3 separate regions of the Homo sapiens genome follow, and all the other regions are linked to region 2. Evidence: promoter capture Hi-C in human tissues and cell types (Jung and others, 2019). All regions are on one chromosome and are shown on one strand. Each heading gives the region's core, a stretch centred on a gene start or on the middle of the fragment in contact. The rest is flanking DNA. Distances are from core to core; before and after follow the strand shown.

The links. The method cuts DNA at HindIII sites, captures the fragments that hold promoters and counts their contacts. A contact is called where the count stands out against the background at its distance.
Region 1: a contact is called between a fragment that was not itself captured here and the fragment with the promoter of HAUS3 in region 2, in 3 of the 25 tissues and cell types used here (IMR-90 fibroblasts, dorsolateral prefrontal cortex and hippocampus).
Region 3: a fragment that was not itself captured here is called in contact with the fragment with the promoter of HAUS3 in region 2 in 1 of the 25 tissues and cell types used here (heart left ventricle).

Annotation. Positions count from the first base shown.
Region 1 is chr4:2,652,647-2,656,516 of GRCh38, reverse strand. All of the region lies in intron 7 of FAM193A (family with sequence similarity 193 member A), which reads right to left. Among named protein-coding and RNA genes, the nearest start is that of TNIP2, 100 kb to the left of the region's middle. The HindIII fragment of the contact is 5,301 bases long and covers 1-3,870 here.
Region 2 is chr4:2,239,684-2,243,924 of GRCh38, reverse strand. It overlaps HAUS3 (HAUS augmin like complex subunit 3), which reads left to right and starts at 1,804. Exons shown (of 6, transcript NM_001303143.2): 1 at 1,804-1,874; 2 at 2,135-2,405; 3 at 2,832-3,887. The coding sequence starts at 2,979. It overlaps POLN (DNA polymerase nu), which reads left to right and starts at 1,804. Exons shown (of 26, transcript NM_181808.4): 1 at 1,804-1,874; 2 at 2,135-2,405. It also overlaps the pseudogene COX6B1P5. RefSeq lists a silencer at 1,374-1,733 and enhancers at 2,414-2,513, 2,120-2,621. The HindIII fragment of the contact is 17,295 bases long and covers 1-4,241 here.
Region 3 is chr4:2,631,742-2,635,909 of GRCh38, reverse strand. The region is part of intron 5 of FAM193A (family with sequence similarity 193 member A); the gene reads right to left. Among named protein-coding and RNA genes, the nearest start is that of FAM193A, 97 kb to the right of the region's middle. The HindIII fragment of the contact is 4,088 bases long and covers 255-4,168 here.

The sequences.
Region 1 (3,870 bases), core at 342-2,841, 410 kb before region 2:
CAGGAACGCTGGGGCCGCTCTACCCTGTATCATCCATTTCCGTGACTTTCCCTAGCCCTGCAGGTGTGAGTTTACAACCCTTTACTAAACGATATGGATAACTTCTTGAGCCAAATTCTATTTGTAAAACTGACTCGAGGGAGAAGGAAACCTGAAATACACTAATAAATGTCATATAAATGAAAAAGGCAGACAAGATCTATAGTTCTTGTTCTTCTTCCCTGTAAAAATGAATTAGGCCCCAAAGTTTTACGGTAGGTTCTATCAAACCCTTCATGGGACAGAAAATTTAAACTATTCCTGAAAATTGCAAAAACACAGAGTTTCTCAATTCATTCTATGAAGCTAGCACAACCTTTATACAAAACAAGTAAGACCTCAAAGACCAAGACAACTCAATTATACCTCAGAATATAGATATAAAAGTCCTGGCTGGATGCAGTGGCTCACACCTGTAATCCCAGCACTTTGGTAGGCCAAAGCAGGAGGATCACTTGAGGCCAGGAATTTGAGAACAGTCTAGGTAACAAGGCAAGACCCCCACCGCTACAAAAAATTTCATTTGTTTGTAAATAAAATTATCTTTGAGACAAGGTCTCTTGCTCTGTCACCAAGGCTGGACTACAGTGGTATGATCACAACTTACTGTAGCCTCAACCTCCTGGGCCTATGATCCTCCCACCTCAGCCTCCCAAGTAGCTAGGACCACAGGCACACACCACCACACCTGGCTAATTTTTTTTTCCTTGTAGAGATGGGGTTCTCCCTATGTTGCCCAGGTTGGCCTCAAACTCCTGGGCTCAAGCGATCCTTCTGCTTTGGCCTCCCAAAGTGCTGGGATTACAGCTGTGAGCCACTGCACCAAGCCAAAACTTAGCTGGCACACTGGCATGTGCCTATGGTCCTAGCTACTCAGGAGGCTGAAGTGGGAGGAGAGCTTGAGCCCAGGAGTTCGAGGCTGCAGAGAACTAATATCTTGTCATTGCACTCCAGCCTGGCCAGCAGTGTGAAACCCTGTCTCTAAAAATAATTTTATATAGCTGTCCGAATACACACACACACACACACAGGCGCACACGCACACACACACACGTCCTAAATCAAATATCAGCTAATAAATTTAATAATGGAATAAAGAATGACATATCATGATCTACTAGGGTTTCATCCCAGGAACGCAAGAATGTCTCAAAATTAGGTAACCTAAACTCTTAACTCATACAGAAATTGATATAAGAAAAATCATACCATCAATTTTGACATCTTCCTGTTTTATTTTTTAAATGATAGCCTAAATCAACTAGAAATAAAGGTAAACTTCTTTAATTTGCTAGAAAGTATCAAAAGTCTGTATGGCAAGCATCAAACTTCATGGTGAAACACTCACAGCAGCCCCTCGAAGCCAGGACTGGACAAGGGTGCCAGTATCAATGCTCTTATTCACACTGGTCTGAAGGTCCTAGTGGAAGCCAAAAAAAGGGGACAAATGCTGGAAAAGATGAGATAAACCTATCATTATTTGTAGAAGATACCGTGATTTCCTAGACTCCCAGATTCAAGACTCAACTCAAAAACTACAAGAGTTAATGCCGGCATCTGGCGAGATGACTGGTCACAGGGCATCTCCATTTTCCCAGTTTCCAGCATGAATGCTTTAAACACACATTCCCCACTCAAGATGCCGGTCATAGCAGCCCCTCAAACTACAGACTATGGAGGCACAAAATGGGTCAAGATTTACAAACTATAAAACCATAATACAATATATTTTTAAAAACCTTAAAAAAGAGTGACATACCATATTCTTGGATGGGAAGATTCAATATTGGTGCCAATTCTCCCTTTTCATTGTATATGTCTGCAGTTATTATAAAATCTTAGTGTACAGTGTAAGAGTTGTTTGATAAATAACATCAATAAAAACCTCTTCCTTGACTCTCTCCTCACAGCCTCAGGGAAATTTTTTTTTTTTTGGAACAAATTTGGGTACCTGCAGGCTTATGTATGTGTCAAACAACAGAGAAAGAATGAATTTCAGACAGCAAACATAAAAATAATTGATTTCAAACTTCCAGCCTGGGCAACACGGTGAAACCCCGTCTCTACCAAAAATACAAAAAAAAAAAAAAAAAAAAAAATTAGCCAGGCATGGTGGTGTGCGCTGTGATCCCAGCTACTCTGGAGGCTGAGGTGGGAGGGCTGCTTGAGCCCAGCAGGCAGAGGTTGCAGTGAGCTGAGATGACACCACCGCCTAGTTGAGAGAGTAAGACTCCATCTCAAACAAACAAACAAAACCTACCAACTCTCTTGCCACATACATACATACTTATTTGTGAACAGAGACTCAATTATTTTACACGTATTCAACATTTTAAAGCCTTTGAATCAGTATAAAATTTCTAAAATGTTATTGATTAGAAGCAACCAATGTTCATTCAAAGGTTTTAAATTAAATAGTGCATTAAAACAGCTCCAGTGGAGAGTGGAGTGGCCACAAACCAAGAACTCCAGGGGTCACTGCAGTTGCCCCCAAAGCCTTCAGGGGAACATAGCCCTGCTGACATACTGATTCTGAACTTCTGGCCTCAAGAACTGTGAGCATAAATTTCTGTTGTTTTCAGCTCCCCACAACCTCCCACCCATGCATACATGGTTCCAGAATGACTATTATTCTCTGGATGTTACTAAAGTGGCTCAATTTCCCTCAATTGTATTAGTGGCAGATTGTTTCTCATGGTTTCTTCACAAGACAGTGAAAATAAAAATGCATCTCCTGGCTGGGCATGGTGGCTCACGCCTGTAATCCCAGCACTTTGGGAGGCTGAGGTGGGTGGATGATGAGGTCAAGAGATCTAGACCATCCTGGCCAACAGGGTGAAACCTTGTCTCTACTACAAATACAAAAATTAGCCGGGCGTGGTGGCGGGCGCCTGTAGTCCCTACTACTCGGGAGGCTGAGGCAGGAGAATTGCTTGAACCCAGGAGGCAGAGGTTGCAGTGAGCCAAGATCACACCACTGCACTCCAGCCTGGTGACAGAGAGAGACTCTGTCTAAAAAAAAATAAATAAAAATAAAAAGCATCTTCTGGTTGCTTTAGTGAAGAGACTGGTTTTCTCTTTGTAAAAGCAATGTAACATGCAATTTTAAAGAAATACACTTTACTTTTTAAGTGACACTGTTATTTTCTCCCTAGAGAGAACATGTATGTGTTATTTTTACATATATACCATTTTCCCTAGAACAACAGCAATAATACCATATATAATATTTCAAAATAAATGTTTACCTTCAAGAAACAGATACCTGAAGAAATTACTATTCCCAAAGGATTTTTCAGTCTTAGTAAAAGAATTTCCCTAAGGGCATTTTTGTGTTTAGTTACAGTTCAATTGGAGAAATGAATCTCTGAAACTAGAACTTTATCTGCCATTTCCATCACATGTGGAACTAAGGACAGCACCCCAGGCTCTTAGGGGCAGGATGTTATGCTACGTAGGACACCGCTGACCTAAACCCCAACAGGCCTGCCTGGCTGAGACCCTCGGGAGCCTCCTGTCATCTGCAGATGTGGTAACACCAGGAAGCAGTAGTGAGGCTCTAGCCACACGGGGTTTGGCACAGCACTCGGTAACGGTTCATCTTCCTTCTCTTTCATCTTTTTCCCTATGTTATCACTAACTATACTATTTTTCTGAAGTCACCTGAAGGTTACAAGTTATTCACAACCTCAGAAACTTATATCGATACATGAAGGGAAAGCCAGGTGATATGGCTTAGATTTGTGTCCCCGCCCAAATCTCATGTCAAACTGTAATCCCCATTGTTGGAGATGGGGCCTGGTGGGAGGTGATCAGATCATGGGGGCAGAT
Region 2 (4,241 bases), core at 555-3,054:
TCTCTCTGTTTCTGTCTCTCTCTGTCTCTCTGTATCTCTCTCTCTGTGTCACACTCCTCCCACCCAGTCTTTGCCTCATCAGCAACATTTCTGGAAGGCATTGCCTGCACAGCTCCCACTTCCTCCTGTCCAAACTGGCTCAACTCTGCCCCCTGATGCACACCCCCAACCTCCAACCCTGGGCTGCAAGGGTCCTCCCACCAGGCCTCCCCGTTCCAGCATCCCTGGTTTCCTTGCCTGCAGATTGGGCACCACTCTTTGAATTTTTTCCCATCATGTTTGTTTTTCAGATCATTTTAGGCCTTATTGACTTTTAAAAGAGGAGGAAAAAAACGTGAAACAAGTGAAGAATGAATAGGAAATATCTTTGACTCGATCAGATTACAATATTTGCCTTAGAACATTCTTATTTCTCTCCTTAAAAATATTAAGAAAAACTATCCAAACGACTTCTACCTAGTCACCCTGGACTAGGACATTGTCTAACAAGCCACCTTTAGGGTCATTTGACGCTGAAGGGAGGGAGTACTATTATATTTACCCATGACCAAAGCCCCTGCTAACCTGTGGAAGACTGAGGAGTGGCAAAGGATTTTTGTTTGGTAGAGATGCAAACGAATTCTGTCCAATAGAGAGGTCTGGTTTCACTGGGCTGTAGGGCATCAGCCAGATTCACATGAAATTTAGCAATCCCGTTTCAGTCATCTTTCACTGACTGCCATCCTCTTTGGAAATGGTGTACCATCCTCCTTGAGTTAAATATATCGATGTATTTAACTCAGGCCATTCCGTTTATTTCTAACATTTTGAAAAGGGAATTGTGGAGGAAGTCAGCTTTTTTTTTTTTTTTTTTTTTGAGACGGAGTCTTGCTCTGTCGCCCAGGCTAGAGTGCAGTGGCGTGATCTCGGCTCACTGCAACCTCCACCTCCTGGGTTCAAACGATTCTCCTGCCTCAGCCTCCCGAGTCGCTGGGATTACAGGCGCCCACCACCGCGCCCGGCTAATTTTTGTATTTTTTAGTAGAGATGGGGTTTCACCATCTTGGCCAGGCTGGTCTCGAACTCCTGACCTCATGATCCCCCCCCCCCCCCCCCCCGGCCTCCCAAAGTGCTGGGATTACAGGCATGAGCCACCGCGCCCGGCCAGAAGTCAGCTTTTACATAGTGTTCTGGTGAGGGATTAGAAATTAAGTGTTTTTGCAAAATAAAGTTCATTGTAAAAGACTCTAAGCGAACAATCCCTAACCCTTAAAATGTACCAGGCATTGGTCGGGCTGCTGTGAATGTTCCGGGAACTCGTCTCTCTCGGGGGCGAGCGCTATCACCGCCGGGCTCCAGCCTGTCTCCCAACCACCAACCTGCGCTGCTCTTTGTACCATTCAAAAGTGCCTTCAGAGGGTCTAGATTGAAGTACGGGGCAGGGCAGGCCTGAAGCACAACTGACGGCTCCGTTGAGAGCAGGCCCGCAGCTTCAGCTCCCCAGAGGGCGCCCCACCGCACCCCTCTGCACCCCTCTGCACCCCATTCATTGCCCAGGCTCCGCCCCCTGCCCAGGCCCCGCCCCTGTCCAGGCCCTGTCCCCGCCCTTCCCGGCCCAGACCCCGCCTCTCTCTGCCCTGCGCCCCGCCCAGGAGGCAGGATGCCCGCAGCGGCCGGGGGCCGAGCGCCGCCTGCTCAGCTCCACCCCATAGTCCAGCCTCGCCGACTCCGCCTCTTTTGACACTACGCCTGCGCAAACAGTCATCCCCCACGACCACGCCGTCGCCTTGTGCGCTTGCGCGCGTCCAGGCGCTCCCGTGAGGCAGTGCGAGGCGCGCGGGGCACGGAGGGCGGTGGCGGCGGGCTCCTGCGAGAAGCAAGCGGAACTTCCTGAGGTGACTGACGCGGGCCTCGGTTCTGGGCGCAGGGGTGTGGGGCTGGAGGAGTGGCCGCGATCCCCGTCTGCACCCAGGTGCCTCTTTTTTTTCCTGCGCTCCTGGGGGCTCCTTCCAGGTGCTCCAGCAGCTGCCCGGGGATCAGGGCCCGGTCCGCTGGGCGAGGAGCTGGGGCGGGGGCTGTGCGGGGCCTGTCACCCCCGTCTTCTGCAGCTCGGTGTCGACGGCGATTCGGTGGGCTTGTGCGTTTGTTTTGTCAGCGTGCTTAGGTGTCACAGCTGGGTGACCCTCCGAAGGAAGGTTTTGCCGCTGGCGCGTCTGGTGTATCGCGGCCTTGGGGCCGCGGATCCCTGGGGCTTGCCGCTGCCTCTGGGGTTCGCGCGGCCCTGGCGTCGGGGCTGCCTCAGCGCTGGCTGAAGGCCGGCCCGAAGCACCCTTAATTGTGGCCGCGCGCTTCCCTGCTGCTCCTGCTGTTCTCCGCGTCGCGGTGGTGGACTCTGGAGGTGGAGCCTTGCCCGGCGAGACGTTGAGGTAAATATTTAGTTGATCTTCAGAAGATGTGCCATGCTTATTTGCGTCTTCTTACGTACGGAGGGCAGGGAAGAGAGGCTGCCTAGCCTCCTGGTGGCTTGGGTTTGTTTGGATCCATTTATTTTGAATTAAAAACAAATGCTGCTCTATAAAGTGTAATGCATTTTAAACCATTTTATCTTTGGAAAAAAAGATAAAATGGATCCAAATAGATCCACTTTCTTGTTAATTACTTTTCGTTACTGTTGCGGTTTTCTGAGAACTAGCCTAATTGTTTCTGTTTCTCTTTATCATCATCAAACATTGCAGCTACGACTACCTGTCATTTATCCCGCTCTCGGATATCATGTGATATTTGTCTGTGTCTTCTTTTTAAAAACACTGTCGTCATATTTGTGGTCTAATACTTGTTTTCTTCCCCCCTAGGAGGAATCATTATAGATTCTAAAAATATATTTTCCCTTCTCTGTGGACTTGGTATAAAACGTAGCTTTTTTTCTGCTTGGATTTATTTTCTAAAAATCAACACCGTAAACCCATATCAGATACAACAAAATTGGGGTAGTTAAAACCATGAGTTGTGGAAATGAGTTTGTGGAAACATTAAAAAAAATTGGTTATCCCAAAGCTGATAATCTTAATGGAGAAGACTTTGACTGGTTGTTTGAGGGCGTTGAAGATGAATCGTTTCTGAAGTGGTTTTGTGGGAATGTGAATGAACAGAACGTGTTGTCTGAAAGAGAATTGGAAGCTTTTAGCATTCTTCAGAAATCAGGCAAGCCTATTCTAGAAGGGGCGGCATTGGATGAAGCTCTTAAAACGTGTAAAACTTCTGATTTGAAGACACCTAGACTGGATGATAAAGAGCTGGAGAAATTAGAGGATGAGGTTCAAACTCTACTGAAATTAAAGAACCTAAAAATTCAGCGACGTAATAAATGTCAATTGATGGCTTCAGTAACTAGCCACAAATCTCTGAGGTTAAATGCTAAAGAAGAAGAAGCCACTAAAAAGCTGAAGCAGAGTCAAGGAATTCTAAATGCAATGATCACTAAGATCAGTAATGAACTTCAGGCTCTTACTGATGAAGTTACACAATTGATGATGTTCTTCAGACATTCTAATTTAGGTCAAGGGACAAATCCACTGGTATTTTTATCGCAATTTTCCTTGGAAAAATACCTAAGTCAGGAAGAGCAAAGCACAGCAGCATTAACTTTGTATACCAAAAAACAGTTCTTTCAGGGTATACATGAAGTAGTTGAAAGTTCAAATGAAGACAATTTTCAACTTTTAGATATACAGACACCATCTATTTGTGATAATCAAGAAATCCTTGAGGAGAGACGACTAGAGATGGCTAGACTGCAGCTCGCATACATTTGTGCTCAACATCAGTTAATTCACTTAAAAGCAAGTAATTCGAGCATGAAGTCAAGTATAAAATGGGCAGAGGAGAGTCTTCACAGCCTAACCAGCAAGGTAAGCATAAGAAATGAGATTGGATTCACATTGTAATTATTGTTAGGAATAGAGGAGATAATATTGCTGTTAAAGTACTTTAGAATGGTGCATCTGAGAAGAGATTACATTTTATTTTCTTTGTTCAGTGCTTATTTGTGATCTGTGTCAATGTTTCATACAAATAGTTCCATACGTTAATGGAGGGCAGCAATAGTAATTATAATCTCTACCACATTATCTAATTTATTTTAAACAAAAGTGCTTTAATTTGCATTCCGAATTTTAAATTTGTGTAATGCAGATACAGACTGGACTGAGATTTTCTTTTTAAGATGTGGCTAGAAACTAATTGCTTTATTATGGGTATTCTGC
Region 3 (4,168 bases), core at 1,049-3,548, 390 kb before region 2:
ATGAGACTCCCACTGCTTTTACAGAGAGATCTGGAGAGGTGTGAGTGACCCACTCTTCTTAAGAAATATGTTGGCCGGGTGCGCTGGCTCACGCCCATAATCCCAAAACTTTGGGAGGCCGAGGCGGGCAGATCACCTGAGGTCAGGAGTTCGAGACCAGCCTGGCCAACATGGTGAAACCCCATCTCTACTAAAAGAAATACAAAAAAATTAGCCAGATGTGGTGGCAGGCACCTGTAATCCCAGTTATTTGGGAGGCTGGGGCAGGAGAATCGCTTGAACTGGGGAGGCAGAGGTTTCAGTGAGCCAAGATCTCACCACTGCACTCCAGCCTGGGCAACAATGTTTTATTTTGGAAAATAGTTATTTTTACATATGTAATTTATGTTACATTATCTAATGTAAAAGTGTATTATTTGTTACATTCTCTAATATATGTTAAAATATGCAATTTATGTAATCTAATGAGAGTTTACATTTTTAAAATGACAATAAGCATTTAAAAAATTTTCTCAGTTTGAATTTCAATACAGCAAGTACTGATGTAAGTCTGCATAAAAAAGCACACTTCGGGGTCCTAAATTTTTAAGTATAAAGGGGCCTAAGTCCAAAACTGTTGAGAATTACTGCCCTGAGACACCGAGTTTATCTTAAGCTGGTGCTGCATAGATCACTGGATGGCAGTGTAATAATGTGGCTATGAATTTGTGAAGATTTTTGGGTCCTGATTGGAATAACCCAACCATAAAAAGAGATTGGCTGGCATTAGTCGGTAAGAAATTACTATTACCGTCAGTCTTCATGGATGTGACAATGGAACTGTGGCTACAGAAGATAATGGATGACTATTTTTAGAGACACTTATTGGAATATTCTAAGACAAAAAGCACATTGTCTGGGACCCATACTAAAATACTGCATCAAAAAGAGGGAAGAGAAAGTGGAAGAAAAAGAAGGCATAATGAAGTCAGAGTGGCAAAATGCTGATTAACTGCGCATCTGGGTAAGGAGTACATAGATTCATTGTAGTCTCTACCCAGAATCCAGAATTACACATTATAACATCTCACAGACCATTTTCAACAAAGTCCTGTGTTTTGTGTTTGAGATCACTTTTTCTTTGATGTTCTGTAGCTGTCATTATACTATAACCAGAGAAGGATTTTTCAACATCTTACTTGGGAAATCTGATACGTTTCCTTGCTGAACACTAGTATTTTTCAGTAATTCTGAGAATTTCTCAGCTATCATCTCTAAAAAAAGTTTTTGTTTCTAGTTTTGATATTTTTTCAAATCTGAATTATCATTCTTTAGAGTATTAATCCTTAACTCCCAATTTCAAACTTTTACAAAGCTTCTTTAAGCACAGTTAACAAAGTTACTCTATATTCTTTTTTGAAAATTTAAATATCTTTGTTATGTGATTCTGTCTACTGCTTCTGCTGGCTTTTAACTGTGCTGTCATGAACCTTGTGTTTTATGACTTTTTTTACTGTGAGCTGCTCATTTGGGGGGATTTTATCTATTCGAATTCTCTGAGGTCAGATTGAAGGTTTCCAGAGGTGATCTGCATGCTGCCTGACTTTACCAGCAATCCTGGACCACTGTAAAGTAACTTCCAGGCTTGGGCTGTTCATACCACACCAACATTTATTCACACTCCAGCTCATGTGGCAGCTGGCTGACAGCTACCAAGTCTCTGGGAAGCTGTACTCCCTGCATCTCCACCCCAAGGCCACGAGAGCTGCAGATCCCTGCTGTCCCTTTCGGTGCTCGGAGTTTCCACTTCAACCTTACTAGTGTCGTCACTTACAGTCCCAGCATTATGTGCAGACCCCATCCTGGGCTAGGTTGTCTCTTGTCTCCCAGGATCAGAAGAAATACCCACAGCAAATGCTGACTTTCAAGCCCATGTATTTCTCAGGATTCCAGCTTTCAATTGGTTTTTCACCACTACGACTTACTCCCTTTCATGCCATCTCAGCCATACACTTTAAAAGATTTCATCTTTTTTTTGAGACGGAGTTTTGCTCTTGTTGCCCAGGCTGGAGTGCAGCGGCCCCATCTCGGCTCACTGCAACCTCCACCTCCCAGGTTCAAGCAATTCTCCTGCCTCAGCCTCCCAAGTAGCTGGGATTATAGGCGCGTGCCACCACGCCAGGCTAATTTTTTGCATTTTTAGTAGAGACGGGGTTTCATCACGTTGGCCAGGCTGGTCTCTAACTCCTGACCTCAGGTGATCCAACCACCTCGGCCTCCCAAAGTGCTGGGATTATAGCCGTAAGCCACCACGCCTGGCTTATTTTTTTATTATCTAGTAAATTCAGTTGTTTCCCTTGGAGGAAGGAATAGTTAAGGGTATCTAGTCTGCTGGACCCCTAGAAATCAATGTGGGTATTTCTATGTGTAAAGGAAGTGAAAAAAGACACTAATCAAACAGCTTCTGGGTGTATGCATTTTTTTCAAGCCACAAGAAATTATTTCTTTTTTATTTTGTTTTGTTTTGTGTGTGAGACAGAGTCTCGCTCTGTTGCCCAGACTGGAGTGCACTGGCACAATCTTGGCTCAATGCAACCTCTGCCTCCCGGGTTCAAGTGATTCTCCTGCCTCAGCCTCCCGAGTAGCTGGGACTACAGGCGCCCGCCACCATGCCCGGCTAATTTTTGTTATTTTTAGTAGAGACGGGGTTTCATCATATTGGCCAGGCTGGTCTTGAACTCCTGACCTCAGGTGATCTGCCTGCCTCGGCCTCCCAAAGTGCTGGAATTACAGGCGTGAGCCACCGCACCCGGCCTCAAGCCACAAGAAATTATTTCTATGTCAACTGCTAGGAATTTGCTCTAATAAATATGGTTCAAATTAATTTTTGTCAGCTTCATAAAACAGTATCCTACAGTAACTATCTGAGGAGGTGCAGACCTCGCCAGCATTTTCTGGAGAGCAGCAACAGCTGCTGTCTTCACTACCAGAGTCTCTCTGGGCACCAGGTTTAGGTGGGCTGGAGAGCATCCTTCTTAACCTGAGCCAGTGTTCTTGTAGAAGACAGAGGAGGGGCTCTGGATTTGAACCTCTGAAGGGCAGGCAGACTCTCAGGTAGAGACGGGGAGGCTGTGCTGCGAGAGATGCCAGAGGAAGGACGAGGTACCAGAAGGAAGCCTGGTGGCACTACCCAGTGGACTCAGACCTTGAAACAGGATAACTGCCCCCCTGCCCCACCCCCACCCCTCACCCTACCCATTCACCTCGCTACCTCTTCTCAGAATAGATACCTCCCCATGGCTTGGCGCAGTGAAGCTTGAGGAAGTCTGTGAACCCCCTGAAATGACTTACAATTACATGTATGTAATTTTTTCTTTTCTTTTTGAGATAGGATCTCACTCTATTCCCAAGCTGGAGTACACTGGCTCACCACAGCCTCAACCCTGAGCTCAAATGATCCTCTTGCCTCACAGCCTCTTGAGTAGCATGCGTCATCACGCCTGGTTAATTTAATTTTAAATTTTTTTGGTATAGGTGGGGTCTCCCCATGTTGCCTAGGCTAGTCTCAAGCTCCTGGGCTCAAGTGATCCTCCCACTTTGGCTTCCCAAAGTGCGAGGATTACAGGTATGAGCCACCACACCCGGGCTGTATGTAAATTTTTCTAAGAGGGTCCATCAACTTGAGAATCAGATAAAGACCAAGGCCAATGCTTACTGTATTTGTTTCAAAATGTAGGTTTACCACTAAGAAAGCACCCAAAACTGATGCTCAGCCCTCTCGCCATGTGATGCCCTGTACCACCTTTGGACTCTGTTCAGAGTCCAAGTCCCCACCTGCAAGAAAGCTCTCACCAGATGTGGCCCCTCAAACTTAGACTTCTCAGCCTTCCTAACCATGAGAAATAAATTCCTTTTCTTTATTAAAAGAAAGAAAGCACCCAAAACTAGCACCCAAATACAGTTAAGTATTATTTAATAATAAAGTTTAAGTGATGAAAAACTCCATAGACTATTAGTAACAGTCAAGGAAGCTTTGAGGGCTTGTCTCTGGTCTCCTTCCAAAGCGTGGGGGCACTGAGGCTGTTGAGGATTGACCGCAGCCTACTTGTAACCATATTTCTATACCATGCTCCTTCCACCCAATGTAGTGATTCCTCTTTTGAGGCAACCGGACCCATCTGTGTGTCTC